7 separate regions of the Homo sapiens genome follow, and regions 2, 3, 4, 5, 6 and 7 are each linked to region 1. The links are contacts of gene promoters, found by promoter capture Hi-C in blood cells and fetal thymus (Javierre and others, 2016). All regions are on one chromosome and are shown on one strand. Each heading gives the region's core, a stretch centred on a gene start or on the middle of the fragment in contact. The rest is flanking DNA. Distances are from core to core; before and after follow the strand shown.

The links. Contacts are between HindIII fragments. The CHiCAGO score rates a contact against its expected background, and 5 or more counts as called.
Region 2: the fragment with the promoter of PTTG2 here is called in contact with the fragment with the promoter of TLR10 in region 1 in 5 of 17 cell types (total CD8 T cells, erythroblasts, M1 macrophages and 2 more); the score reaches 9.1 in total CD8 T cells.
Region 3: a fragment that was not itself captured here is called in contact with the fragment with the promoter of TLR10 in region 1 in 7 of 17 cell types (total CD8 T cells, erythroblasts, fetal thymus and 4 more); the score reaches 7.7 in total CD8 T cells.
Region 4: a fragment that was not itself captured here is called in contact with the fragment with the promoter of TLR10 in region 1 in 16 of 17 cell types (total CD8 T cells, naive CD4 T cells, fetal thymus and 13 more); the score reaches 30.1 in total CD8 T cells.
Region 5: a contact is called between a fragment that was not itself captured here and the fragment with the promoter of TLR10 in region 1, in 13 of 17 cell types (fetal thymus, naive CD4 T cells, activated CD4 T cells and 10 more). The highest score is 8.7, in fetal thymus.
Region 6: a contact is called between a fragment that was not itself captured here and the fragment with the promoter of TLR10 in region 1, in 11 of 17 cell types (naive CD4 T cells, naive CD8 T cells, total CD8 T cells and 8 more). The highest score is 11.5, in naive CD4 T cells.
Region 7: a contact is called between a fragment that was not itself captured here and the fragment with the promoter of TLR10 in region 1, in 4 of 17 cell types (total CD8 T cells, M1 macrophages, fetal thymus and 1 more). The highest score is 5.7, in total CD8 T cells.

Annotation. Positions count from the first base shown.
Region 1 is chr4:38,781,204-38,785,257 of GRCh38, forward strand. TLR10 (toll like receptor 10) reads right to left here and starts at 1,787. Exons shown (of 4, transcript NM_030956.4): 1 at 1,718-1,787. RefSeq lists enhancers at 667-876, 939-1,108. The HindIII fragment of the contact is 660 bases long and covers 1,160-1,819 here.
Region 2 is chr4:37,958,318-37,962,371 of GRCh38, forward strand. It overlaps PTTG2 (pituitary tumor-transforming 2), which reads left to right and starts at 2,081. Exons shown (of 1, transcript NM_006607.3): 1 at 2,081-2,811. The coding sequence starts at 2,118. The coding sequence ends at 2,693. All of the region lies in intron 2 of TBC1D1 (TBC1 domain family member 1), which reads left to right. The HindIII fragment of the contact is 1,467 bases long and covers 909-2,375 here.
Region 3 is chr4:38,039,440-38,043,493 of GRCh38, forward strand. The region is part of intron 8 of TBC1D1 (TBC1 domain family member 1); the gene reads left to right. Among named protein-coding and RNA genes, the nearest start is that of PTTG2, 81 kb to the left of the region's middle. The HindIII fragment of the contact is 1,210 bases long and covers 1,198-2,407 here.
Region 4 is chr4:38,055,264-38,059,317 of GRCh38, forward strand. The region is part of intron 14 of TBC1D1 (TBC1 domain family member 1); the gene reads left to right. LOC124900692 reads right to left here and starts at 886. Exons shown (of 2, transcript XM_047416508.1): 1 at 517-886. The coding sequence starts at 703. RefSeq lists enhancers at 1-254, 2,317-2,486. The HindIII fragment of the contact is 8,507 bases long and covers 1-4,054 here.
Region 5 is chr4:38,077,753-38,081,806 of GRCh38, forward strand. The region is part of intron 14 of TBC1D1 (TBC1 domain family member 1); the gene reads left to right. Among named protein-coding and RNA genes, the nearest start is that of PTTG2, 120 kb to the left of the region's middle. RefSeq lists enhancers at 1,031-1,200, 1,301-1,410. The HindIII fragment of the contact is 4,572 bases long and covers 1-4,054 here.
Region 6 is chr4:38,094,023-38,098,076 of GRCh38, forward strand. TBC1D1 (TBC1 domain family member 1) reads left to right here. Exons shown (of 22, transcript NM_001396959.1): 16 at 1,907-2,068. Among named protein-coding and RNA genes, the nearest start is that of PTTG2, 140 kb to the left of the region's middle. The HindIII fragment of the contact is 629 bases long and covers 2,072-2,700 here.
Region 7 is chr4:38,114,931-38,118,984 of GRCh38, forward strand. TBC1D1 (TBC1 domain family member 1) reads left to right here. Exons shown (of 22, transcript NM_001396959.1): 18 at 780-1,024; 19 at 3,103-3,262. Among named protein-coding and RNA genes, the nearest start is that of PTTG2, 160 kb to the left of the region's middle. RefSeq lists enhancers at 3,260-3,761, 3,393-3,562. The HindIII fragment of the contact is 5,058 bases long and covers 1-4,054 here.

The DNA.
Region 1 (4,054 bases), core at 537-3,036:
CTATGTTGCCAAGGCTGCTCTTAAACTCCTGGCCTCCAGCAATCTTCCCACCTCAGCCTCCCAAATGGGTGTGATTAGAGGTGTGAGCCACTGTGCTTGGCCTCATTAAAGCAATTTTAAAAGTAGGACATACACTTTTTTTTTTTTTTGAGATGGAGTCTCGCTCTGTTGCCCAGGCTGGAGTAAAGTGGTATGATCTCAGCTCACTGCAAGCTCCACCTCCCAGGTTCAAGCGATTCTCCTGCCGCAGCCTCCTGAGTAGCTGGGATTACAGGCACCTGCCATCACACCCGGCTAATTTTTGTATTTTTAGTAGAGATGGGGTTTCACCATGTTGGTGATGTAGTCTATAAATAGTATATATATGTTAATATCATATCCCTACTACTACGTTAAAAGCAGGTAAAAAACAGAGAATGACCTTCCTTAATACATCTTTAATATCTTATAATTTAAAAGTCCAAGTCAAAAGACATCATCAAATGACAACTAGTGTTTTACCAAAGAATATTTAATCATCTAATTTATCTTTTCCCAATGATATAAAGAAATAGAAAAGAGATTAAGAACCTATTGAATGTTGAATGATCTTTGCAACATAAGAGTAAGAATGACTTCTTTTCAGTATTTCCTACGTGTCTGACATGGAGCTAAGTGTTTTATGTCCATTACCTTGTTTAATCCCTCAATGACTCAACAAAATGGCGGCCATTATTATTCATATTTTACAGATGGAGGAGCTAAAGCCCAGAGGTAAAGTAACTTGCCCAAGATGACCAACTGAAGAAGCAGAGATTTGAACCCAGACCTGTCTGGTTCCTTCTGGATGGTAACTAAACCCAAATGCAAGGCACCTCAAACCTTGAAATGAGGTGGCTTAAGATGTAACGACATCCTAAGGACCGAATCACTGAGGTTGAATCCATTGATCTGACCAGCTGCCATGGCGGCCACTTCCTCCTTTCTCACCCCATGCCCCTGTCTATGAAGCTTCATGCAGCTGCTGTGGGACACTCTGCTAGGTGCCACAAAGTTCAAGAGACTTTGCCTACATGTATAAATATATTCTTAGGAAAGTTATAAGTTCACAAGAATTGAAATAAAACTCGAAGTGCATCCTATTCCTAATTAATAGCTCAGTGTAGGTGGTCTGGGAGAAAGCTTATCAAGAAACCAAATGCTCACAGGTTGTTAACCATCCTCTTCTTTACAGCAACCACATATGGCCCTCTTTGTCCACTTCTGAAGGAAACGGAATAAGAACTGCATTGTACAAGATCCATCAGATCTGCCCCTACTTTTAAACAGGTAACACAAATGCAGAACTTTTCAACGGGGTAAAGGAGCAACAAATATGCCTTAAATAGCCAAAGGTTTCATCCAGCAGAGGTTAACATACGCTGTGGGGAAATAAGAGCTAGAAAAAACTTGCCACAGTGCATAGGACCGTTCAATCTGAATAGAAGAGCTGACCAGGTTTGATCCGCAATCAGTGAAAAGAAACCCACGCTCTCAAGCATCTGCAAGAAATTCCTCAGATCAATAGCCCCAAGGTCACTAATCATTAATCTAGACAAAATAGTAAATACTAAAAATCTAAATAACCCTACTTCCCTCCCCTCAATATTAGCTCAAATTATCTCCTTTTTAGAAAATACCCATGCAGCCCTTATATCTTTTTAATGAGAGTTACAACAAACAAAGCTAAGGTTCTTACCCCACGGCTTGCACTCTCTCAGCAGAGCTGCAGGTGCGTGGATGATTCGTTGACACGGTCAGAATTGGCTGCAGGAGGGAATTGAATCGAGGTTTTCTGTAAAGCTTAAACCCCATCCGCCCTCTTCTGCATGCTACTGGTATTGCATGTTATATATATTCATTATAATCTTAGCACTTTTTTAAATTGTGGTCAAATACACATAACATAGGAGTTATCATGCTCACCATCTTTCTATTTTTATTTTTATTTTTATTTTTTTTGAGGTAGGGTCTCACTTTGTCACCCAGGCTGGAGTGCAGTGGTGTGATCACTGCTCACTGCAGCCTTGACCTCTTGCGCTAAAGCCCGCAAGAGGCTGGGCTTCTCAGTCCCGCAAATGTCTGGGACTACAGGCGCTCACCAACTGGCCTGGCTAAGTTTTTTGTATTTTTTGTAGAGACGGGGTTTCGCCAGTTGCCCAGGCTGGTCTTGAACTCCTGAGCTCAAGTGATCTGCCTGTCTCGGCCTCCCAAAGTGCTAGGATTACGGTGTGAGCCACCGCGCCTGACCTTAAGCATTTTTAAATGTACAATTTAGTGGCATTAATTAAGTACATTCACACTGTTGTGCAACCACCACCACTGCCCATCTCCAAAGATTTTTCGTCATCCCAAACTGAAATTCTATGCCATTAAAAAATAATTTCCCATTTTCCCCTTCCCTCAGACCCTGGAAACTATAATTCTACTTTCTGTCTGTGTGAATTTGACTACTCTAGGTACCTCATGTCCGTGGAGTTATACCATATTTGGTTTTTTGTGACTGGCTTATTTCATTGAGCATAATGTCTTTAAGGTTCATCCATATCATTTCTATTATTATTACATAGAATAATAGAATCTTTCCTTCCTTTTTTAAGGCTGAATACTATTTTGTTGTATGTACGTCCCACATTTTGTTCATTCATTCATCCATCAATGGACATTTGGGTAGTTTTCACCTTTTGGCTCTTGTGAATAATGCTGCTGTGAACGTGGTGCACAAATATCTATTTAAGTTGGTACTTAACATTCTTTTGAGTCTATACCTAGAAGTGGAATTCACGGATCGTATGACCATTCTGTTTAATTTTTTGCAGAACTACCATACTGGTTTTCCACAGCATCTTAGAGCTCTTTGATGATGCTTTTCTTCAAGGTGCAGGTCGGTTATCCCTTTCATCAGTTGGGTGGGGCAGTCATGTGATGATGGGCAGGAGTAGGAATGGTGACTCCATAATTTCAGCAATCAGGCAGGAAGAGGGTGGAAAGGAGTTATCTAGAGCAGTGGTCCCCAACCCCTGGGCCACAGACAGGTACCAGTTCATGGCCTGTTAGGAACCGAGCCACACAGCAGGAGGTGAGTGGTGGGTAAGCAAATGAAGCTTCATCTGTATTTACAGTCGCTCCCCATCGCTTGCATTACCACCTGAGCTCCACACCCTGTCATATCAGTGGCAGCATTAGATTCTCATAGGAGCTTGGACCCTACTGTGAGCTGCATATGGGAGGGATCTAGGTTGCGTGCTCCTTATGAGAATCTAATGTCTGATGATCTGTCACTGCTTCCCATCATGTCAGATGGGACCATCTAGTTGCAGGAAAACAGGCTCAGGGCTTCCACTGATTCTACATTATGGTGAGTTGTATAATTATTTCATTATATATTACAATGTCATAATAATAGAAATAAAGTGCACAATAAATGTAATGTGCTTGAATCATCCCGAAACCATCTCTCCTCCATCTCCAAACCCGGTCTGTGGAAAAACTGTCTTCCATGAAATTGGTCCTGGTGCCAAAAAGATTGGAGACCTCTGACCTAGAGGCCTTTTCTTGAAGTGAAGTGGTAAAATAAGCATGGTATTTTTTAAAATGTAGATCGCAAAGTACGGATCAATTTTTAAAGCAACATTTTTGAGGTTTTTTTCATACTTGACTTAAGATTTAGGTGACTGCTGGAGATCACGAGTAAAGAAGAAAATTTCCAGATGGATTTGTCTACAGGAGGAATGATCAATTTAAACATGAATGATTATAATAGATTTATGTCTTATAAAATTGGGGAGTGGGTGGGTTCTTAAAATACATTTTTTAACTATCATATTGGGGTTTTTAAATTTAAAATGTAGTCCATGTATTTCCACATATATTGTAGGGGGAAATCACACAAAATATAAATAACTGTAAAAAGAAAAACAACAGCAAAACAAAACCAGCTCTGCTCCTCACCTAAACATATACAAACATGTCTATATTACACAAACGTAGGAAGACAGGAACACCCGTCAGGAACGTTGGAGAGGGGATTCCCAGC
Region 2 (4,054 bases), core at 831-3,330, 820 kb before region 1:
GCAATCAAGAACCTTGACCATATCTGGTCCCAGATGATTCTTCATATTTTTTATTTTTGTTCCAAGATGGTGTACTCTATTTTCCAGCAAAATGGGACAGTTAATTTTTCCTCGTAGCCATGCTTTCCTCTGTTTTGTTCATTGTTGTTTCTTTTGCCTGGGGAGATTTCCTCTTCTTTTACTTAAGCATTCCGTCTCTCCTAGCTCCTTCTCTTACTTAAGCATTCCATCTCTCCTAGCTCAAATGCCACCTCCTCCAGAAAGTGTTCCTGGATTAGATTTGCTTTCACACCTCTAGACCTCCTTTATTTGTCCCTTCTTTAGGACACATATATGACATCTTTTACTTTAATTATTTCTGCCCCAATTCAGAGTACTATTAGAAGGCTGTTAATAAAAAATGAATGTGTCGGAAGAGTTGAAAGAAGTTGTTTAATAATAATTCCTGCTAATGGTATAATGAGACAGGATTACAGACAGGTGGCCTGCAAACTTTATTGTAAAAGTTGCCTACCATAGTGTTTGAAGAAAAACAATTCAATTGGAATGCCTGCAGATTGGCACACACACTCTACCCCACCAGTCTCCCCGTTCCCCATTGTCTTCCACTGGCACATCATATATTTACATTCCCTCACTGACTCTGGGTGGCACTTGAATTTACAAGCTCCATATAGAGGTTACATCAATCAGTTGATATACCAGGTCCAAGTCATGGCTCTGTCACTTTCTAGCTAGCTGTGTCAGGTTAAGAGCAAGACTTCTAATGATACCTTTGAATGGCCCTTTGTATTTGAGGTGGCCTTATGCAAATAAACAGGCACAGTTGACCCTTGAACAATGTGAGGGTTAGGGGCGCCAATCACCTGCATAGTCGAAAATCCACCTATAACCTTTGACTCCCAAAAAGCTTAACCGATAGTCTTCCGTTGACCTCACCAATAACACAGTCGACTAACATATATTTCGTATGTTTTATGCACTATATCCTGTATTCTCACAATAAAGTAAGCTGAAGAAAATGTTATTAAGAAAAATCATAAGGAAGAGAACATATTGCATTATTCATTAAGTAGAAATAGATCATCATACAGGTCTTCACCCTCATTGTCTTCACGTTGAATAGGCTGAGGAGGAGGAGGAAGAGGAGGGGTTGGTCTTGCAGTCTCAGAGGTGGCAGCCGCAGAAGAAAATCTGAGAACAAGTGGATCCATGCGACTCAATCCTGTATTGTTCAAGACTCAACTGTATATTTTTGCATATGGGCTCAAATACGTACGCACATATGTCACTGGGTCAAAGATTCATAGAATGAATTAGACAACAAGAATATTTATCATTGAATTGAAATGGCTCACTGCAAAAGTGCCCTCAACTTATCTCTAGGCCTTAGAAACAGAAGTGACCCTTTGCTGCTGTGAATCAATAGCCTGGACTAGATTGGGGTTGGGTTGGCAAAGGTATATAGTCATTGCCATAGTCCAGTATTCCTGCCCAAGCAAGCACCATTAGTAGTCACGTTGCTCAGAGAGGGCCTCTCGGCTCTCCCCACCACTGCATGCTGGATTGTCTGCCACCAGTAGATCAGAGTTGGCAAAAGGGATAACTCGGGATGAAACATTTGAGCATTTTGCAGTTTAGAGAAACTTCAGGGGTGCTGCTTTAGTAAAAAATGGAAGACTTGCATTTATTAAAGGTTAGTAAGAAGTGAAATAATGTATGCAAAAGTACATTATAAATTAGAAAATGCAATAACGGCAGAAACTATTTATTTATTGGTTGCTCTGCCCTTTACCTAAGTGGTTTTTGACCATTTAACAATGTGTAAGAGTTGGGTTTTACCTCCATTTTATGGATGTGGAAATAGGGCTTGGATGTTAGCTAACTTGCCCAAATCTTACAGCTAACAGAAAGTGGTACTCCCGAGATTCCTACCCAGGTTTGTCTGACCTCAGGCCTGTGCTCTTTATATGAGTTCATGCTAACTCTCAGATGATGTGCTAGGCACAAAAATTAGATATTACACCAATTTCCACTATAGTTAACATTCTATCTAAATATAAAGTGGGACCACGGTCTTAGATGAATGTGGCTGTTGAGAGCGGCAATAATCCAGAATGGCTACTCTGATCTACGTTGATAAGGAAATTGGAGAACCAGGCACCCGTGTGGCTGCCAAGGATGTGCTGAAGCTGGAGTCTAGACCTTCAATCAAAGCATTAGATGGGATATCTCAAGTTTTAACACGACGTTTTGGCAAAACATACGATGCTCCATCAGCCTTACCTAAAGCTACCAGAAAGGCTTTGGGCACTGTCAACAGAGCTACAGAAAAGTCAGTAAAGACCAATGGACCCAGAAAACAAAAACAGCCAAGCTTTTCTGCCAAAAAGATGACCGAGAAGACTGTTAAAACAAAAAGTTCTGTTCCTGCCTCAGATGACGCCTATCCAGAAATAGAAAAATTCTTTCCCTTCAATCTTCTAGACTTTGAGAGTTTTGACCTGCCTGAAGAGCGCCAGATTGCACACCTCCCCTTGAGTGGAGTGCCTCTCATGATCCTTGATGAGGAGGGAGAGCTTGAAAAGCTGTTTCAGCTGGGCCCCCCTTCACCTGTGAAAATGCCCTCTCCACCATGGGAATGCAATCTGTTTGCAGTCTCCTTCAAGCATTCTGTCGACCCTGGATGTTGAATTGCCAGCTGTTTGCTATGACATAGATATTTAAATTTCTTAGTGCTTTGGAGTTTGTGTGTACTTGTATTAATAAAGCATTATTTGTTTAACAACATAATAAATACATAAATATAAAGTGGGTCATATTCCTCTTTATGTGCATCTGTCTCAGCTGTCCCTTGTTTCTATATTTCTTCCATACTACAGCCCGTACTCTTTGGGGATATGTCAACATGATTTACTTCTGTAGAGAAACAGGAGACAGGAAATAGCAAAGGATAAAGGAGAAAAGGCCAGGGCCAGGCCAAGAACTTCTACATCTTTTCTTCCCAGCCTAGTGTGAACCAGATGAAAGCCTTAAGGAGGTCCTAGCAGCAAAGGGAGATAATTAAAAGAATGAGAATTTTGTGGAATGCTAAAAAAAAATAGGGAACATATTTGCAGCTAGGACTAACACTGATTATCTTAAAATGTCTATATGGCTAAATAATGTTCATGAAATCCCGTATCTTATTCTGCTAATGTCTTACAACTTAAAGCACTTTTATGTCCATGCCTTGAATTCTGTACAAAGCTTTGATAGAGTCACAGATGTCTGGTGTCAATCCAGATCACCTGAGAGGCTTCAGGGTTTCCTCTCTGGTTCCTGAATTCCAAGACTTAGTGAGTTTCCTAGGCCAGGAGCTGCTATTCATTATACATGTTAGTGGTTTTGCTCTTTCTACTGAAAGTGAGTGGTGGTTATGTCTCTGAACATGTTATTCCACAAAAAGCCAACTAGATGTGGCTATTTAAGAACCATCAAAGGCCATGACAGGCCAAAGTTTCCAAATCCCTCTTCAATCAAAGGATGCTGTCAGAACTGACCTCCAAAAAAGATGCAAGGTCTCAGTCCTAGGCTGTCATACTGGTCCTTAGAGAAGAGTTACAATTTTGTGATCTGCTCCACTCCATTTTGATTTTTGCTTCCATGCTATTTTAAAACTGGAGAAGGTTTAAGTTTAAAAATTCAAGACAAATCATAAAATATTTGAGAATTTACTTGTACATTGCCTGTCTTCCCAAATAAACTGTGGGCCCCATGAGGGCAGGGACCATCTCTGTTTTGTTCACTATGGTGTCCAAGTACTTCCCCCATATCTTGGAGCTGATTCTGTGGTGGGCTGCTCCAAGTAATCTTTATCTTGGGCCAGTAGCCACGCAGGTCAAGGATAAGTTTCCATTAGGTGTGGGCATAAGCTCCTACCCAGCCATTGTCCTCTTCACCAGAAGAACTAAATTTCATCTGTAAAGGAAGACATCACATTCTGTAAATGGTAGGGCCTCATTCTCCTGTAAGATTCATATTTCTGCATTTTGGATTCAAGAACCATAGGTGT
Region 3 (4,054 bases), core at 553-3,052, 740 kb before region 1:
GCTCCTTCCACTTAGCATAACGTTTCTGAGACTCATCAGAAACGTTATGCTACATTGTTGCATGTATTAGTAGTTTGTTGTTGCATGTATCAGTTGCTTGTATCAGTAGTTTGTTCCTTTTTGTTCTGTGGTATTAATGTCAAGAGTTTCTTTCTCCATTCTCCTTCTGAGCTGCTTGATTATGAATAAGGCTGCTGGTAGATACATTGTGCCAGCCTGGGATGGTGAGTTCTGAACTGAGAATTTCAGTATAGCATCAGGATTTAAAGCTTGAATACTTGAATCCAAACTTTCATGCTTAGAGTTTACCCCATCTGTTGAAGGATGTGCAATATAATGACTGCAATAGAATTCACTGTGGAGCCTCCAAATTAGAAATTATTGTCTGTGAGGGCCAGGCACGGTGGCTCACGCCTGTAATCCTAGCACTTTGGGAGGCTGAGATGGGAGGATTGTTTGAGGCCAGGAGTTTGAGACCAGCTTGGTCAATATAGCGAGACCCCCATCTCTGTTTTTTTTTTTTAAAGAAATTATTGTCTAAGAACCAGTGTCATCTTCCAAGGAGAAACTTCTAGATACTTGTTTTAAGATAAATAAGAAACAAGTCATTTCTAAATGTGAATTATTTTTTAAATGCAATTTTTTAAACATTTTATTTTAATTATGGCAATAGACGTGGAAAAGACTCTTTTTTGATAGTAGGGGAGAGCAGAAGAAACATTGAATTAAGTACACAGAGATTCTTCAGACCTGCTTTAAAAACACATGCATACAAATGCACTTCTGTCTCTTAGGATCTACTAACTGATGCTGCTTGCTTTAGTCTTTTAGCTAATATTTTCTTTCTTTCTTTCTTTCTTTTTTGTTGGAGACAGAGTCTCGCTCTGTCGCCAGGCTAGAGTGCAGCGGCACAATCTTGGCTCACTGCAACCTCCGCCTCCCGGGTTCAAGCGATTCTCCTGCCTCAGCCTCCTGAGTAGCTGGGACTATAGGCGTGCGCCACCACGCCCAGCTAATTTTTGTATATTTAGTAGAGACGGGGTTTCACTGTGTTGGATGGGATGTTCTCCGTCTCTTGTCCTCGTGATCCGCCTGCCTTGGCCTCCTAAAGTGCTGGGATTACAGGCGTGAGCCACTGCGCCTGGCTCATATTTTCTTTATATATCAAAACAATTCAGCTTGCTTCACTTTTATGAAAGCTTTATTATGAGTTTGAAAGCAATTCTGCATTTTCTTAACATTGTAACTGGTGTTGAGTTGAAGGCAGGCCCCTGGGAGCCCTTTGTGGGCAATTCCCTTCACTCTGGAGGCTGCCTCGAGCCTGGACAGGCACTTACACTTGGTCAGTGATTGCACAGAACCGGTTGCAACAGATTCTGTGCACCTCCCTGTGGCGCGTAGCATTTAGCAGGCACTTGGTCACTATTTGCTGAGTGAGTCTGTTACCTTAGGCGTGTATTTCCCGTGGACCTGCCTGGGGATCATTGCTCATTCACTCATTTTGAACAAGCCAATATTACATGTCCAGGGTACGCTCTATAGTGTGAAACACAAAGGTAAATGATAGTTCCCCTTCTCAAAGGAATTTCTAAGGTAGTAGCCATTCTTTTGATGCATATTCTCATTCTCATAGAGAGTCCAATTATGGATAATTGGACAAAGCTGAATGTCGCTTTTATGAGAATCCATTCTTTCTCTTTTATGCTTTGAAAAATGTGTAGCATTCATTAGTGAATTAGGATTTCATTATTCAAAGAAGACATAAGGTCTTCGAACAGCAGATGACTGAATAAAATAATACCTAACAGCAGTAGAATGAGGGGAGGACATATTCAAGGAACATTTTATGCCCATTAGATTGGCAGAAATTTTTAAAAAGTGACAATACCGTATAAAGGTGAACTTTCCTATACTGATACTGGGAACATGAATTTGTACCATTCAGGGAAGAGAAACTTGATAATATCTGGTGTAGTCTGAAGGGGCACAGTCCCTGTGACCCAGTGAGGACATTCCTCATTATTTCCCTTGCCAAACATTTCACATGAGTCTATAAGGAGCTCTATATAAGAGAGGTCACTGCAGCCTCCTTTGTAAGAGCAAGAAAAAAAAGCAAATAAGTGTTTAACAATAGGAACATAGATAAATTAGGTTATGCAGTGAATATTTGCACTCTGACTAAAGTGAGTGAATCAAAAAAAATTTGTCAACAGGAATAAATCTCAAAAATAATATTGAAAGAAGAAAGCTAATTTACAGAAGGATGTGTACAGTATGACACCATTCATTTAGTTTCAACTACATATCTTTTATGGACACATACATATAAAAGCAGAAAACATGAATTGATAGGATAAACACCAAATATTTCTGCATATGGCCAGGTGTGGGGAAGTAGTGGTGATTAAGCTTCAAAGATGTCTGCAGTGGTTCCCATTAAAAGTAGAAAGTAGGCTGGGCACAGTGGCTCACGCCTGTAATCCCAGCACTTTGGGAGGCCAAGGCAGGTGGATCATTTAAGGCCAGGAGTTCGAGAACAGCCTGGTCAACATGGCGAAACCCCATCTCTACAAAAAAAATACAAAAATTAGCCAGATGTGGTGGCGCACACTTGTAGTCCCAGCTACTCGGGAGGCTGAGGCATGAGAATCACTTGAGCCCAGGAGGTAGAGGTTGCAGTAAGCCAAGATCGTACCACTGCACTCCAGCCTGGGTGACAGAGTGAGACTCCATCCCAAAAAACAAGCAAACAAAAAAAGCTCATAGAGTAGGTAATAGTCATGATATCTGATGTTTTTTGATTGTCTGGTTTACATTTTTTATTTTTATTTTTTGAGACAAGTCTCACGCTGTCACCCAAGCTGGAGTGCGGTGGTGCGATGTCAGCTCACTGCAATCTCTGCCTCCTGGGTTCGAGCGATTCTCCTGCCTCAGCCTCCCAAGTAGCTGGGATTACAGGCGTGCACCACCACACCTGGCTAATTTTTATATTTTTAATAGAGACAGGGTTTCACCATGTTGGCCAGGCTGGTCTCGAACTCCTGACCTCAAGTGATTCATCTGCCTCAGCCTCCCAAAGTTCTGGGATTACAGGCATCAGCCACTGCACCTGGCCTTGGTATATGTGTTTTAATTTGTATTCATTCATTTAAGCCTCATGACAGCTCTGCGAGGAAAGTTCACTATACGTCTTCAGGCTGCAGGTAGAGGACCTGAAAGGGACAGGAGGTAACAGTCTGGCCAAGACCACAGAGCCAGGGAATAGCAGAGGAACATTTCACCTGGGCATTGCACTCCAGAGCTGGGCTTCTCACTGTTCTCAACCCCTGGCAAATGCTCACTTGAACAAAGCCAGGTGGTGATACAAAGGTATTTGTTATATTAGTCTCTACACTTTTCTGTGTGCTTGAAATAACTGCAACAAAGAATATATCAGTATTTAGAGTAATGGGGGATTTGCTTGTGTGTGTTTGTATTTTTGAGATGGAGTCTCGCTCTGTCGCCCAGGCTGGAGTGCAGTAGCATGATCTTGGCTCACTGCAACCTCCGGCTTCTGAGTTCAAGCGATTCTCCTGCCTCAGCCTCCTGAGTAACTGGGATTACAGGTGTGCGCCACTACACCCGGCTGTTTTTTGTATTTTTAGTAGAGACAGGGTTTCCCCGTGTTGGCCAGGCTGATCTCAAACTCCCGACCTCAGGTGGTCCACCCACCTTGGCCTCCCAAAGTGCTGAGATTACAGGCATGAGCCACTGCGCCTGGCCGTTTTTTTTTCTAACGAAATTATTTTCTAACAGAAAGCAATCAGGTGAGAATCCACATAAGAAACAATTTAATTCAGAGATTTTTGTTGCATATTAAAAAAAAAATGTACCTTCGGCTGGGTGTGGTAGCTCACTCCTGTAATCCCAGCACTTTGGGAGGCTGAGGCAGGTAGATCACTTGAGCTCAGGAGTTTGAGATCAGCCTGGCCAACATGGTGAAACCCCGTCTCTACAAAAACTACAAAAAATTAGCTGTGTGTAGTCCCAGCTACTCTGGGGGCCGAGGGAGAAG
Region 4 (4,054 bases), core at 777-3,276, 730 kb before region 1:
CTGACGAGCTACCCGCTGTAACCAAAGCGTGGGCTTCGGAGTCTGCTTTCAAATCCCAGCTTTTCCCCTTAGGAGCTGTGAACTAGAATAAACTGTCTAAAGTTACCACCTATAACCTGGGATTAATTATGCCTGTTGCCACACTGATAGAGACAAGGCAGCATGATATCATTACTGATACATTTTTTTTAAAGCATTCAAAATTCATAGTACTGGAAAGAAAATCAGTGATGCGAATGTTTCCAGGGTAATGTCACCTCCCATGCTGTGGAAGTCCTTCGGGTGAGCCTGGCCCCTTGCTTCTTTTGCCCCAGCCTTTCTATGTGGGGGCACCATGGAGCTGCCACTCACCAGCACCTTTTTTCCCTCAAGTAGTTTGTACCTATAAAGTATTCCTGCCGTGGGTGGCCCCTCGGTGGAGCTGCTGAGCCTAGCCAGGGTTTGATTTCTCTTCCTGCCAGTGTGAGCCAGATGGCCACATCTCTCTTCCCCTGCCCCGTGGAGAGGTCTGCTTACCGCAAAGAAGGGCTCTTCCTCCCAGGTCCTGTAGCACCCTGTTAGAGGGTGTGGAGTGGAGCAGTGGGAACCAGAGCCACCAGAGGGAGGCCCTGGAGGAGGAACGAAGCTGATTCATGTCTGAAAGGGGTGCCAGAACCCAAGTTTCGGTGTTTAATAAAGAGTGCCTCGGTGTTGCGGTGGCCATACCTCACAGGGCATGGTCGCTTGGAAATTTCTGCTCGGAAATGCTTTGTGCAGTGGCCAGGATGCGTTAGGGGCCACAGATGACTGCTTGCTCCATCATAGAACAGTTCCAAGTTTTCAAACGAGCATTCACAGACTGAGCCGCATCCTGCCTCCCTGTCCTCTGATTCCTGGCTTCTTCTCTGGTCTCTGAAGCCACACGGAAATGTGTTTGCATCTGTTTCCTGCCCTTCAGATGACAGAGGACCATGGAAGCTGCTGCCTCCTTTAGCTCTCTTCTCCAGGGGAATTGCCCTCGTCACTGTTTGGGAACCCCTGGTCCGAGTCCTGTCCTCCGAAGAGCCTCTGCCCCTCCTGGAGTCCTGAGTTGAACTTGGTGTTCACTTGGCCTCTGGCTCTGGCAGTGTGTTGCTCCTTCCGTTGACCTGCCACTGCTCTGTTAATGCAGATTGATCTTCATAATCTGTTTCTGCTTTAAGTGATTAACTCAAACATTCTTGGCTCTTATTCTATCTTGTCCTTTGGGATATGAACCATTATTTAAATTTGGACTGGTTTCCTGGCTTGGCACAGTTGACCATGCCTGTAAGCTCAGTGCTTTGGGAGGCCAAGGCAGGAGGATCCCTGGAGGCCAGGAGTTCGAGGCCACCCTTGGCAACATAGTGAGACCCTGTCTCTACAAAAAAATAAAAATTAGCTGAGCGTGGTGTTGTGAAGCTGTAGTCCTAGCTACTTGGGAGACTGAGGCAGGAGGATTACTTGAGCCCAGGAGTTTGAGTTTACAGTGAGCTGTGATCACACCCCTGCACTCCAGCCTGGGCAACAGAGTGAGACCTTGTCTCGCGGGGTGGGGGAGTCATGTCTATACTTGAGAAGTTTTTTTCCCTCGCATAGTTTGTACCTATAAAGTATTCATCAGTTTTGAGCAGTCCTTTTGCGATTGTTTTGAGTCTTGAGTCTGGTGACCAGTAAGTTGTATATATTTGCCTGTCAAGTGGACAAACATGGCCTTTGTGCCTTTAAGTAATGGCTAAAAGTACCAAACAGAACAGGGCCTGGCATAGATGCTGCTCCTCCTGTTCCTAGGCCGTAATCACCCCTGATTCATCAGACCCCAAACAAGTCAGCTCCTCTCCCTCCTGTGCCCCACCACCCAATCTCCTGCAGGAAGATGTCTAGAGACCCCTGTCAGCGCTAGGCAGAGATCACCATCCATGTCCACCTTTCCTCTGATGCAGGTTCCCACTAGCCCCTCTGGCTTGTGCCATGCCAGCCATGAACTCACCCTCATGCCCCACCCGAGCCCTGGCACAGGCTATTCCCTCTGCCTGGAATGCTCTTCGTCAGTATCCCCATGGCTCCCTCCCTCCCCTTCCCTTGTATCCTGACTCTCCCATAGCAGCTCTCTCCCTGTAACACATGTTCACAGGTTCATCTTTGTCACCCATCTCCGGCAGCTCCTGCAGGCTTGATGGCTGCTAAAGGCAGGCAAGTCAGTGGCTCAGATTCTTGCAAACTTAGTGATTAGTGATTTCTCAACTCCCTCCTCATGCCTCCTCTGTCTCTATAGGCACATATTATTTCTTATCTCTTCTCAGAACCAAGCCGCCTGAATTTCTGAATAACATTGTTTAAGTGTTCTGTGTATGCAAAAGAAAAACGAGAATAAAAGGATTATTAAGGAAGAATTAATATAATAATAGCCACATATTATGCTCTTTTTATACTCTGCTAAGTGCTTTACATGAATTATTTCCTTTAATTAGACAATCTTAAGAACATCGACATTTTTATGAAGCCCATTTTACAGGTGGGTGAGTGGAGGCTGGGAGTGGCTTAAATCACTTTCCCCAAACCAGGGAGTTAGTGGGAGCCAGAGGCAGGACCTGAGCTCGCGGGTCTGAGCTCCAAAGCTCATTCTCTGAACTGTGCACAGCACTGGGCTGCAGCCAGAGATGCAGGACGCTGCGGGACCCTCTGGAGGTGGTCCTGCCTGTGCTTCCCTCTTCCCACAGGAAGCTCCCTATAGGCATCTGTGTTGGGCGTGGACTCTCAGTGTACCTGCATGTCTCCCTGTTGGCCAGACACCAACACTGAATGGAAAACATGTTTCTGGGCATTTTAATGTACGTACTTGCCTTCAGTCAATCTCCTCCGCCCCCTTCCATCCTGACCGCCTCCCTAATAGTTAGCAGTGGGACTGGAGCTTGAATGGCAACTGATTTCTGTCTGAGAGGACAAATCAGGCATCTTTGTCCTCTGCCACTGTCTGTTCCCCATCCTTAGGATGCACGATGCCAGAGCCCTCCACTGTGGTCTGTGACCACTTTGACCCACACTAGCAGGTCTCCATATGTTCCTTCCAGCTGAGAGACATCACATCCAAAGACAGTTTAGAGCTCTGAGGTTTCTTTCCCCAGAGGTCCCTGCTTTGTGCAAACTGTCTCCAGCCAAGCGTGCACAAGACTCTGTTCCTGATTTGCCTGGGCGGCTGAGCCATGGGCAGCTGAGCCTGCAGCCGCTGGACTCACTGCATTCCCACTCTGACTTTGGCATGAAAGACACACAAGTGTGCTTGTGAGAAATAGATCTTAACAGTACCTTTTAACACCTATTTCAGGTGCTCAAAATGACTGCCTGTTTTACATTTATATTCTGGCAGTGCAAACTTCAATTGGACAGGAAATCTTACAACCTCTCTTCCAGGTGAAAAAGCGAGGCAGGGATGTTTATACAGTTCCATCCATGTCATCCCACTTGGAAGATACTAGTAAAACACACCAACAGTAATACAAAAACCATGGTGTTTGCAATAGTGATAATGTTACTAGTGAAGGAAAAATAGAAACTTTCTGTAATTTGGAGATTCTAATTTTTATAGGTGGGCTAAAAAAAAAATCTGGAGAGAAGGGTGTTAAGTGAGTAAGGAGTGTGTCTCTAACTAAATATAGTGTAAAAAGAGAAGAAAATACAAAGTCAGGCACAGTGGATAGAGGTGGATAGTCTAATCTCTAATAGTATAATGGGCAAAATTGTCTCAAACAAAATTAGTCTGCCTCTTGTTTACTCAGGGATGTGTGACTGTTTTCTATGCACAAAATCCCCATGAAATAATTAAGTTGCAAGAATCTGAACTTTATATTTTGGAAACCTATCTGAGGTAGGTAGGAAGTTAATTTATATTTAGAAATTTGCTTGCATATGTCTAGTAGCTCCAGGACAAATATTCCCAAATCCCAGACTATTTTTTTTTCTTTTTAAATTCAACAGTGACCAGTTGGTCTCTTGTAAGAATTACAGCCTTAAGTTAGCAAAGTCTAAGAGGGCTGGTTTTAATCCTGAACCTCAGAGG
Region 5 (4,054 bases), core at 799-3,298, 700 kb before region 1:
TGGATGTTCAAGCGATTTTAATTAGATGTTGGGCTTTTATGTCAAGTGCTGGCATTGCACTCCATGATAATCCAGGGACTCGGAAGCACATGTTATGCGTCACCCTGGGTTGGTGCAGTGGAACTGGGGTGGGTTGGAAGTAGTATTCTAAATCTGCTTCCTGCGATGGGGTAGGTCAGGTTGTCCTGTGTTGACAAGGAAGAAGTCTGGGTGAGGAAGCGGGATGAAAGCAGACCAGACGCTAGAGTCCACTTTCAAGTCCGATCCCAGGACCTGGCTTAAAGTTAAAGAACAGCAAAGATGAAAGGTGCCGCACAGCAGCACAGGTCGGTGGCCACGTTAATGACATAGAAAGCAAGTGCTGTGAATTCAAAAGAAAGGACAGCTCTGAGCCAGAGTACTTGGTGACTTTGCTCAAACAAATCCCTTTCTGGCACCCCCAGGCCTTCCCTCCCGCTTCAAAAAAATTCTGAATTGTGCCAATCCATTGAGGCTCAGCTCAAGGCCATCCCATGCCTTTCCATCGTAATAAAGCCTTGTTTCCTGGGCTTTAAACATATTCCTTTTTTCTTAGGTACAGATTGAACTTTTTTAAAAGGGAAGTTGTCAGAGGCTCTGTAAAACGTTAAATCAAACCTGCTTTGTTTTAGGGATGGGGTAGCTTGGAATCAGATTTGCTCCTGCTATGGACTGAACATTTGTGTCCCCCCAAAATTCCTATGTTGAAGCCCTAATGCACAGTGTTATGGTGTTTGAAGGGAGGCCCTTGGGAGGTGATTAAGTTTAGATGAGATTGTGTGAGTGAAGCCCTCATGAATGGGATTACTGTCATCCCAAAAAGAGGTAGAGACCCCAGAGCTTCCTCTCTCTTCACCCTGTGAGGATACAGCAAGAAGGAAGCTCTCTGCAAGTCAGGAAGAGAGAGGGCTCTCACTAGAATACACTTGTACTGCCACCCTGATCTTGGACTTCCCCTCCAGAACTGTGAGAAACAAATGTGTGTTGTTTAAGCCACCCAGTCCCTATGATTTTATTAGAGCAGCCCGAGCTCCATTCTCCACTCCCTGGCTTCCTGCATGGACTTTGCAACCAGAGCTTCACGGGGTATAGTTTAATAGCTGTTTCTCTGTAACATAGCCACTTTTCTCTTTCCAGGTCTAGTTTTGACCCTCATAACACTTTGTTAGGGGAGATTTGAGGGTGAGGAAGTTGGCTTGCTTTTCTTTTCACCATGTCTCAGTAGAAACAGAAGCAGAAAGGCCCTGAGATACTGAGCCCACCTTTCTCAGCAGGGTGTGACAGCCCGGAGTACCCTGGGCTGAGGAGGCCAGGGCTGGAGGGGAGGCTCCCACGGTGGAGGGGTTGAAAGCTGGGTTGTAATGAGCTGCTTTTCTGTAGATGCCTAAATGATGTGGGTTGAGAAATCGTGATCTTAGCTTTTAGTAGTATATTTTTCTGTTTATGTTAGGTGAGTCATCAGTCTGTCTCTGACTATGTTCAGATCTGGAAGTTTTCTGGAAGGAAATTTGTTATTGCTGTAATAGTGTAGGTTGTTGATCTGGATTAGCAGGGAGCGGCCCCTTAATACATTCTTAAGAAAATGGTATTTAGTTCAGTCTTTGGCTTTGAACTTTGCCTTTGACAAAGATGAAAGTGCGACTTGACTGGTGTTTGAAAAACATGGTGATATGGCCAGGTGTGGTGGCTCATGCCTGTATCCCAGCACGTTGGGAGGCCGAGGCGGGCAGATCACCTGAGATCAGGAGTTCGACACCTGACTTGGTCAACGTGGTGAAACCTCATCTCTACTTAAAATACAAAAAAATTAGCCAGGTGTGGTGGTGTGCACCCATAATTGCAGCTACTTGGGAGGCTGAGGCAAGGGAATCACTTGAACCCTGGAAGGCGGAGGTTGCAATGAGCCAAGATTGTGCCATTGCAGTCCAGCCTGGGCAACAAGAGCGAGACTCCATCTCAAAAAAAAAAAGCAAGTTATATTACATTTTAAAACTCTATTTAATGGTCAGGTCATCCATCCATAATGGGTAGAGTCATTGCTTAATTAATTTAAAACAATGTATTTAAAAGGTACCTTTGTTCCCTAGTGTCACATAACGTGAAATATCCAATTAAGGTAACTGTAATGTAAAGTAAGTGGCTAAAAAAGTGCTGAACGCCAAAGGCCAGAGATTCAACCTTTTGTGTGCATTAGAATTTCCCAATTGTTCAAATCCAGGTTGCTGGATCTACCCCAGAGTTTTTGATCCAGTAGGTTTGGGGTGGGACCAAGAATTTGCATTTCTAACAAGCTCCCAGGTGGTGTTGAGGCTGAAGCTCGTGTGGGGACCACATTTTGAGAACTTCTCCCGTAGACTGAACTCATGGTCTAGGTTCTGTCAGCTGTGACCCCTGTGCTGCTGGAGGGAGTGGTCAGATGTCCTGACCTCTGTGCCCACAGTGAGGTCCAAGCTGAGTAGGTTTGACCAGCAGCTGTAATCACAGAGTGAACAATGTAAACGACCAATGTTGGGTGGTCTGACATCTTTTAAAAAAAATCCACGTGGATGAGATCACAGGGTTAAGTGTGGGCAGCAGTCAGGGTAACTCCATGTGGTTACTGCCCATGCACTCTCTGCTGTTTTTCACCTCTTCTTCAGAGTGTGGTCAGGATGGTGGCCTTGCCCAGCACAGGAGGCCCTTTTCCTTCTGACCACCTGACCTGACCCACCTCTTAGCATCTGCAGGCACTCCCTGTCCCTTCGCTGGGCCCCGTGGGGAACTACTTGCAGTCATCAAATTCATCATGCTGCTTTCTTTTAATTCCCACACTTGCCAAGGTGGGACTGCCCCGCATCTCCTTCCCAGTCGTGTGTCAGAACTCAGCACTGGACCTTTCCCCTTTCCCCACTCCCACCCCTCCTCACCCCGACGAACGTCTCACTTGGGATCATCTCTTCTGAGGTTGGACCTGCACAGCCGCCCTCTGCACTCTCGCCACCTTATGGGCTGCCCTTGACCCCTTGGCACACAGACCTGGAAGTTGGCCTGCTCAGCTGTCTCCTTAGGGGTGGAGCTTGGTTTTCTTTCATCACTGTTCTGCGATGAATTGAATGCATGATTGGTCACAGGAAGGTAGGGGAGGGATAAACACCTTATGATATGTTTCTTATAAGGTTTTATATGTAGAAAGTTATATGAAAGTGTCAGATATCTATATATGAAGTATATGTGAAGTTTTATGATAGTTTTGCATAATTTAAGAATAAACTCTTTAAAGGAGCTGAGTCCCAATCCCTTGGGTCGAGAGTTGCGTGGCTCCCGGGGCCTGCTTGTTTCCTTCCACTCTGCGTGTTCGTTGCTGGCCCCTCATAGGCTGTCCCAGACCTCTTTGACTTCTCTCCTTTCTGCCCAGTCTTCCCTGAGACGCTCCAGGCTCCCTGGCCTCCTGCTTCTCGGAGCTTCTCTTGTGTTTGTTTTCTGTGCTCAGGGCGCCATGGTGCTATAGGCCACAGAGGAGGCGTCTGGGGTCCCTCGGGGCAGGTGCAGCAGGAGGAAGCCGTCTCCGAGGGCATGACCTTGGAACTGAGCATTGACAGAGGAGAGTCAGCCAGACAAAGAAAGGCCAAAACCCCACCCCTCTCCCACCCTATTTCTACGTGACCATGGGCCCTGGACACAGCAAGACGGTGACCCCGGGCCTCCTATTGTTGCGAGGAGCCCCTGGGAAAATGTTGGCATTTTCTTCATAGAACAGGTTTCTCTTCTCCAGTATTCTTCAGTAAATCAACTTTCTTTTTTATCCCCAACCCCAGTCTGATTGCGAAGAAGTCTAAGCAACAGAAAGATTTTGCCAAATAGATTATCTTTTTTAGAACAAAATAGATCATGATATTAATAGGAATTCAGCACTTACTCTTGTCTAAGTACTGTTTTTAAGTGCTCTCAAGGATTTTTCATTTAATCCCCACAACAAAGCTGTGGGGGGTGGATGCTATTATTATCGGTGATTTATGAATGAGGAAACTGACACAGAGGGGTGGTCGAGGAGCTTGCC
Region 6 (4,054 bases), core at 1,136-3,635, 690 kb before region 1:
TTTATTTAAAAAACATTTTTCTTAGTTAAATAATACATGATGGTTTAAAAATCAAATATTCAGTGCAATTCTTCTAAAATCTCTGCAAGTGTGGGGGTCATTTAATTGCTGAGCCTCCCAGCCTATTAGCTTTCCATTCTGAGCTTTCAAGAGATGGTGGCAGCTGGCAAGGCAGTTTTGTCTGGGAAAGCCATTGTTAACAGAGCAGAATTGGGGATGGAGCAGCCATAGCCCACCCACCAGAGTAGGCACAAATCAGACCTGAACGTTATCACAAAGTCCAAGTTGGCTCAGACATTTGTGTTAAATCATAATAAATATTTTAGAGAACTTGGTTGCAAATTTACATTTGATCTCAGTCAGTCCTCTTCCCCTATCTCTACAAGCTTACAAACCGCATGGGTGTGTGGGGGTCTTATTTAATATTGCGAACAGCTGGTTCCTGTATCTGAAGTTCTTGCCCTGGAGCCTGGGTGTTTGTTGTAGTTCTGCACCATCTGCCTTGGTTGATAAGGCATTTTGGAGGCCACTGATTTTAGGCAGCAGTGTTGTTAGGATACGGAAACAGCAGGATGTTTGTGGATTGAGCCTTTTCAGCTGAATCTTCTGGCCAGTTCTTTCTGGCTGTGTGAAGTTGTGTCGACTACAGAGCAGGATGCTCATGTTGCCTGCTGGGCTCTGTTAGGGTGGCCAGACGTGCTTGTAGCAGCCTTACTGCCAGAGGAACGTACGTTGGCATCCAGAGTCCAGTGCTGCCGCCAGTTGCAGTGCAGCAAGGCTAGCCCCAAACCTGATTTGCTGCAAGGATTAGCTCAACTCTAGTGACATTTATTGTGTTTTCTCATAGCCCAAATCACAGCCAAAAAAAAAAAAAAAAAAATCTAGGGTTGACATTTTTAAAAATTTTTTTAAAAAACATTTTTCTTGGTTAAATAATACATGATGGTTTAAAAATCAAATATTCATTGCAGTTCTAAAATCTCTGCAAGTGTGGGGGTCATTTAATTGCTGAGCCTCCCAGCCTCTTAGCTAAAAAATCTAGGGTTGACATTTTTAAAAATGTATTCAACAGAGTACGAGGGAAAAGATTAAAGATGGTGGATGGAAAACCATAAAAGCTGAGAGGAAGGCAGCACTGGGCTTAGAGTCACTTGGCTTCCCTCTAGCTAGTAAATAACCAGCACCAAATCACCTGATCCTCCTGAACTTCAGTTTCTGTGGCCATGAAATAAGAGGTTGGGTCCAGGAATCAATGTAAATTGTCAATTTAACATTTCCCTTTATTGATATTACTCCCCCCTGGGCTTGATAATTTAGTTATAATTCTTCATGCAGCTTTAGGTTGAGTAAGTTTGGTGGGAAACAGTAGCTCTCTTCATATATTTGAGAGATGTCATTTGAAAGGGGTAGATTTATTCAGTTTAACTCCAAGAAGCAGAAATGGGACCCATGGTAGAAGCTACCAAATGGAGGTTTGGCTCTAAATAAGAAAACGATCTTTGGAGTGCCTCTCCTAGTTTAGATGAAAAAAATTGCATCAAGTTGTAACCATGCTAGTCATTGGGAATTTTATTAACAACACGTAGCTCCTGTCCTGGGGAGGCTCATAGTTTGATAGGGGTAAGATGGAAAGAATTGGGCAGATGTGGATTATGTCTTAGCAGTAGAGCCAACAGAGTATGTTGGGGGTGAAGGGGTAAGAGAAATCACATACCTCCTAGGTTTTTAGCATTTTCCAAAATGAGGAAAATGGGTAGAGGCATGGACAGTGACTTATATTTAGACGCGTTAAGCCAGTTGTAACTGCTTGACGTCTCAGCGGGATAACAAGTAGGCAGCCATGTTGTGTAATGGAAATTCCATAGCTGTAGCCTTTACTAATGCGCTCTGGAATGGTCTATTCCAGCCTCTGAAAATGATTTGCTGAACAAGCGCCTGAAGCTCGATTATGAAGAAATTACTCCCTGTCTTAAAGAAGTAACTACAGTGTGGGAAAAGATGCTTAGCACTCCAGGAAGATCAAAAATTAAGTTTGACATGGAAAAAATGCACTCGGCTGTTGGGCAAGGTAAGCTTCATTGGGAAGCATCTAGTCAACCTCACCCCTCATTGGTGATTGGGGAGAAGTGTGGAATTAAAAAAAAGTCAAGTCTAATTTTAGTGGCCATCTCCCTTCTTTTCATCACATCTTAATCTATTTCCATATACCTTACTTAATAGACATGAGTTTCACCACCTTTCATGATTCCTCTTAATTAAAATTCCCAGAAGGCCGGGAAATAGGAAGAAGACAGAAAAACCCAAGGGTTTTGTTGCCTATAAACTAGATAATGATTTGATGATATACTTTGAATTAAATTATAAACTAGAAACTAATTGTATGGCTTGTCTCTGGGTACTCTAGGGAGACAACATAGTGTGGGGAGCACAGACTTCAGACAGGTGGTCTTGGGCTTAAATCTCAGGCCTGCCACTTACTTTGCAGTGTGATCTTAGACAAATGCCTCACCCTCTCTGAGCTCCAGTTTCTACAAGTGTAAGATGTGGGTGCTGACAGTGGATGTTGTGAGGAGCACACAGCATGTGTCTGCTATACTGTAAGGCCTTAGAGAGCGGGCAGGATTCACTGTTTTTTCAGTGAGATCTGCCAGCCCAAACTGTTACTGGTCCAAGAAGAGATAAGTACAGAACTTGAAACTAAGCTTTTGGAAATGTTTCCAGCAATGTGACACAGTGATCCTAATTAAAAATGTGGACTTATATTTTGTCCATCTGTTTTTTTTTAAATTTTGTTTTTCTACTAATTTATTTTTACTGTATCGTATAAAAATATCAGCCTGTAGTAGATTGGAAAATTTTTAAAAAGAAAAAAAATTGATGCTTCACAGATAGTTTGAGAACCGCTATTTTGAAGCTTACCTTCAGTCATTATTAGTGTTCTAGTCAAACAATGATTTCTTTAAAAATATATGTTAATGTCTTCTGGCAAGAGTAAAAGCCTGAGTCTAATCTGATTCTATGCTACTGAGTTCTGGTTGAGCTCATCATGAATAACCAGGTGTTCTGAATAAGGGTTTCAAGTATGTATAGAATGGGTTTTTCCTGAGTTTATCAGTTGTGCAGTGGGAAAACGTTGTATATGCACTTTTTCTTTTTTGAGATGTAGTTTCACTCTTGTTGCCCAGGCTGGAGTGCAATGGCGCGATCTCAGCTCACTGCAACCCCTGCCTCCCAGGTTTAAGCTATTCTCCTGCCTCAGCCTCCTGACTAGCTGGGATTACAGGCGCCCGGCACCATGCCTGGCTAATTTTTTGTGGGTTTTTTTTTTTTTTTTTAAGACAGAGTCTTGCTCTGTCGCCCAGGCTGGAATGCAGTGGCGTGATCTCAGCTCACTGCAAGCTCTGCCTCCCGGGTTCACACCATTCTCCTGCCTCAGCCTCCTGAGTAGCTGGGACTACAGGTGCCCGCCACCATGCCCGGGTAAATTTTTTTTGTATTTTTAGTAGAGATGGGGTTTCACTATGTTAGCCAGGATGGTCTCGATCTCCTGACCTCATGATCCACCCACCTTGGCCTCCCAAAGTGCTGGGATTACAGGTGTGAGCCACCGTGCCCGGCCAATTTTTTGTGTTTTTACTAGAGACGGGTTTTCACTGTGTTGGCAAGGCTGGTCTTGAACTCTGGACCTCAGGTGATCTGCCTGCCTCGGCCTCCCAAAGTGCTGGGATTACAGATGTGAGCCACTGCACCCGGCCTGCATATGCATTTTTCATCTCTAGGAGCATAAATGGAACAAAGCAGTGTTTTTTACTATAGTTTTTTAGGCATTTTTAACCTTTTCTGAATTTTGACATCAATTTTAGTAATCATGGGAAGTTATTGTTTGTTACGCATTTTCCCTTTCTATGGATAAGGAAACTTGGGCTTAGAGCAGTTGAATAGTGGCTTAGGGCCACAGAGCTGGGTTCACACCACCGTACTGCACTGCCTCCTGTTGAACAGGATCTCCAGGTGCTTATCTCAGAACACGTATGCAGTGGTGAAGACCGAAGTT
Region 7 (4,054 bases), core at 904-3,403, 670 kb before region 1:
GGAAAAGCAGATCCAGAGAGTGCTTGTAGTAAGGCGAGGCCTTTTAGCTGCATTTAGATGATGCTGGGATTGGGGTGGGTGCAGGGTGCAGCAGTGGGGAGGAAGAACTGTGTGTGTTCCTCTTGAGAATAGGGGTTATGTCTAGAGGATTAACAGTTTTCTTTTTTCTTTTTTTTTTTTTTTTTTGGAGTTGGAGTTTTTCTCTTGTCTCCCAGGCTGGAGTGCAGTGGCATGATCTCAGCTCACTGCCATCTCTGCCTCCCAGGTTCAAGCAATTCTCCTGCCTCAGCCTCCCGAGTAGCTGGGATTACAGGCACCTGCCACCACGCCTGACTAATTTTTTCTATTCTTAGTAGCGATGGGGTTTCGCCATGTTGGGCAGGCTGGTCTCGAACTCCTGACCTCAGGCGATCCTTCCACCTAGGCCTCTGAAAGTGCTGGGATTACAGGCATGAGCCACCACACCTGGCCAACAGTTTTCTTTTTTCGATTGAAGTTCAGCTATTTGCAGGACCGAAGGTAGTTCTGATTACTTTCACCTGTACTTCCACCAAAAAATAAATAAAACAACCATGAGTAATTGCTGATTTTTAATTGAAAGCATTATTCCAGGAATAACTGGTGGACTTCGTTTGCAGAGGAAGTGGCAAAGACTGATTGATATTATGATCCAGCTTCTAAAGATTTTGCTGCTTAATCTGAAGCACATTGGATTTCTGGTTCAATAGGCTTTCTTTTTTTGTTTTTATTATTACAACTAATATGTATTCTTTTCACAGGGCGAACCTTTCCTACACACCCATACTTCTCTGCCCAGCTTGGAGCAGGACAGCTATCGCTTTACAACATTTTGAAGGCCTACTCACTTCTAGACCAGGAAGTGGGATATTGCCAAGGTCTCAGCTTTGTAGCAGGCATTTTGCTTCTTCATATGAGTGAGGAAGAGGCGTTTAAAATGCTCAAGTTTCTGATGTTTGACATGGGGCTGCGGAAACAGTATCGGCCAGACATGATTATTTTACAGGTATAGAGTGTTCCTTATGTCTTTAATACAACAAAATGCTAAGAATGTTTCTTATCCCTCTCCAGATGTGCCTCAGGAGCTTTTTCACCGTCAGGTAACATTGTAATAGCTGTCACTGCTGATAAAGGACTCTGTGCTAGGCATTATTCCAAGCGCTTCATCTGCACTTCCCTCTAAGGAAGACACTGTTCATCGTCTCAATTTGTAGATTGGAAAACTGAGTCTCCAAGAGATTATAAATTGGGCCCAGTCACACAGCTAGCAAGTGTCAGAGCTGGACTGGAAACCCAGGCCTCTCTGACTCTAGGGCCTTCCCTCTTGCCCCCATCAGCCATCAGATGATCTCAGACCTACCTCCCAGCCTCTGCATCTGCTCTTCCTCTGCCTCACCCCCACCCTTGTCATCTCAGGTTCAGCTCAAATATCACATCCTGGGAGAAGCTCATTCTGACTACCCTGATGTTGTGTTCCCCACTTCCACCTTGGGCACACTGCGTCACGTTATCCTGGCTGATTTCTTTTGCACAACACAGCCACTGCCAGAAATGATCTTGTTTCCATAATCATCTCCCTGTCTATTTTCTGATTTTTCATAGCCTGTGAACTTTAGGAGAGGGAAGGGATCTTACGGGTCTTGGAGCCGAGTTCCTAGTTTCTGAAACAGTGCGTGGGTTGAAGTAGGCACCCCATAAGTATTTGTTGAATGAACAATTCTGTCAGAGAAAACCAAACACAGTAGCGTATTGCAAATACCACGTGCTGCTCTTGCTGCCTGTCAGAGGGAAAACTCTGGATCCTGCTTCAGGAATATTCCTAAATGTTGCAGCACATGTTGATATGTTCATTTACTACCAGTAAGATACTATGCCTTCAGAGCTCTAGAGAGTATCCTGGGAGGGAATACATTAGAGCCAAGGACTTGCTTTGAGAGCACCAAATTATGTGATTCAAAATCTTTTCACCTTGACCTGTGAACATGGACCACGTGAATGCAAATATCATAGAAGGAACTCATTCACTGAAAGATTTTGACCACATAACACTTTCCACATGTACTGTGAGGTTCTTCCTACATTCCCTTTATTAACTTTAAAGACAGTGGTCACCAGGCAGTGGAATTTTTGAGTTTTCTATAATTTATGTAACACACAACTCTTTTGGGGTGGTGCCTTTGGTTGATTAGACAGTCTTCGATATGGGAGAGCCACAGCTGGTGCTTATGGGATTATATTATCTGAGCCTCTGAAAACGGTTTTGTTTTCTTTCTCTCAGTTTAGATAGGACATATCCAACTTGGTGGATCTTAGCGGATTCTGACCCTCTGTAGGTTGTTGTTTCTTTAGGCTCAGGCCGTGGCACTGCTCAGATCTGGGCTGGCTCTCGGGCCTCTGTGAGCCTGTAACTCTTGGTGGCACTACTAGGAACTGGCATGAGATTTCTGCCAGAATCATGTCATTCTGTGAAGTTGGAGTTCCACTTTAGTTGGAAAAAGTTTTTATTTCATCTTAAGATGCACACTTGTCTTCTTGTTTTAACTTGCCAGGTATCTGGATATTCCATATATTATACACCAAAAGAAATTATGCTTCTCCTGCCTATTGAGTAATTTCAGGGGTCCAGAGGGAACTTGCTGAGTGAACATGTACAATGGATTCCTATGGAATCATAAGATGCCCCTAATTCAGTCTTAGTAAAGAGACTGGCTTCTTATTTCTAATTCCTCCAGGCTTGAGTTGTGCAAAGAGTATGTATTTGTAAGAGAATTTATGAAATGTTTGCACAAGACAGATTTTTAGATCTTCTTAGTGGAGGAATACAAGGGAACAATAAAAAGGAAGTGGCAGTAGAAGACCCAGCGTTAGCGTCCTGGGCCTACACCCAGCCAGTGCCTGGCACCAGCAGGCACTTGGGAAGCACTTGTTGGATGAATTAGTAGCTGAGCTCAGTGGATCGCAAGCCAAATCGAATGTTTAAAGTTCTAGTAAGTCTTCTCTTACACCCACCCTGTGAGCAGTAGGCATAACTTTATTGCTGTGGCAGATCCCTAATTCTCAGCCCTTGTGGCTGTCTTCCTGCAGATCCAGATGTACCAGCTCTCGAGGTTGCTTCATGATTACCACAGAGACCTCTACAATCACCTGGAGGAGCACGAGATCGGCCCCAGCCTCTACGCTGCCCCCTGGTTCCTCACCATGTTTGCCTCACAGTTCCCGCTGGGATTCGTAGCCAGAGTCTTTGGTGAGCATTAGTAAATCTGTTTGCCAGAACCAGCCTTCTCTTATTAGAGGGGAAACATTTCCTGTCTCTCCGTGGTGATTCTTATTTTTATACCTGTAGCTCTTACCAGAACAGGGTATTGTTTGATAGTCTAAGATTAGTCAGGGGTGGGTTTTGTGACTTTGGAGTCCTCCTTAACTTCTGATAATCACGGGGCTTCCCTAGATGCCTTCATCTTGTGGGATGTGGATCCGATCCGTGTAGATCCGATCGCTCACCATGAGGGTCTCCCTAGAGCAGACATTTGGAGGACTTGGCTGAGGAGCCACAGGTGTATGTTTCTCATGAATTGCCTTCCTCAGCCACTCTGGGTTGTGAGTATTGACTGATGCTGACTGTGGGCCTCTGGGCCCTTTCTAGATTCCCTTGGCATCTCTTCCTCCCCTTTCTCTTCTTGCCCTGCCCTTGGCTCTACACTTTCTCCCAAGTCACTGTCTTGGAGACCAGTGTCAGGACCTTGAGTAACACCTCCGTGTGGATGGCTCGCTCTCCCCGCTCAGCCTTGACACTTCATGAAGGCCTCTTGCCCCTGAGCCCACATGTCACAGCCACTGCCACTCCCGTGCCCCCGCTGTTAACCTTGGGTGGTTCACATGTAAAACCTGCCTTTATATTCTTGATTTACTTTTTGAGAACATTGTCAAAGTTAGGTGAGTGTTCATACACAAAGCCTTCAACCTGCCTTCATATGCAGGGATAGGGCTGTCCACGTGCGCATCAGGAACCGAGTGGAATGTTGTGAGCATGGTCAGT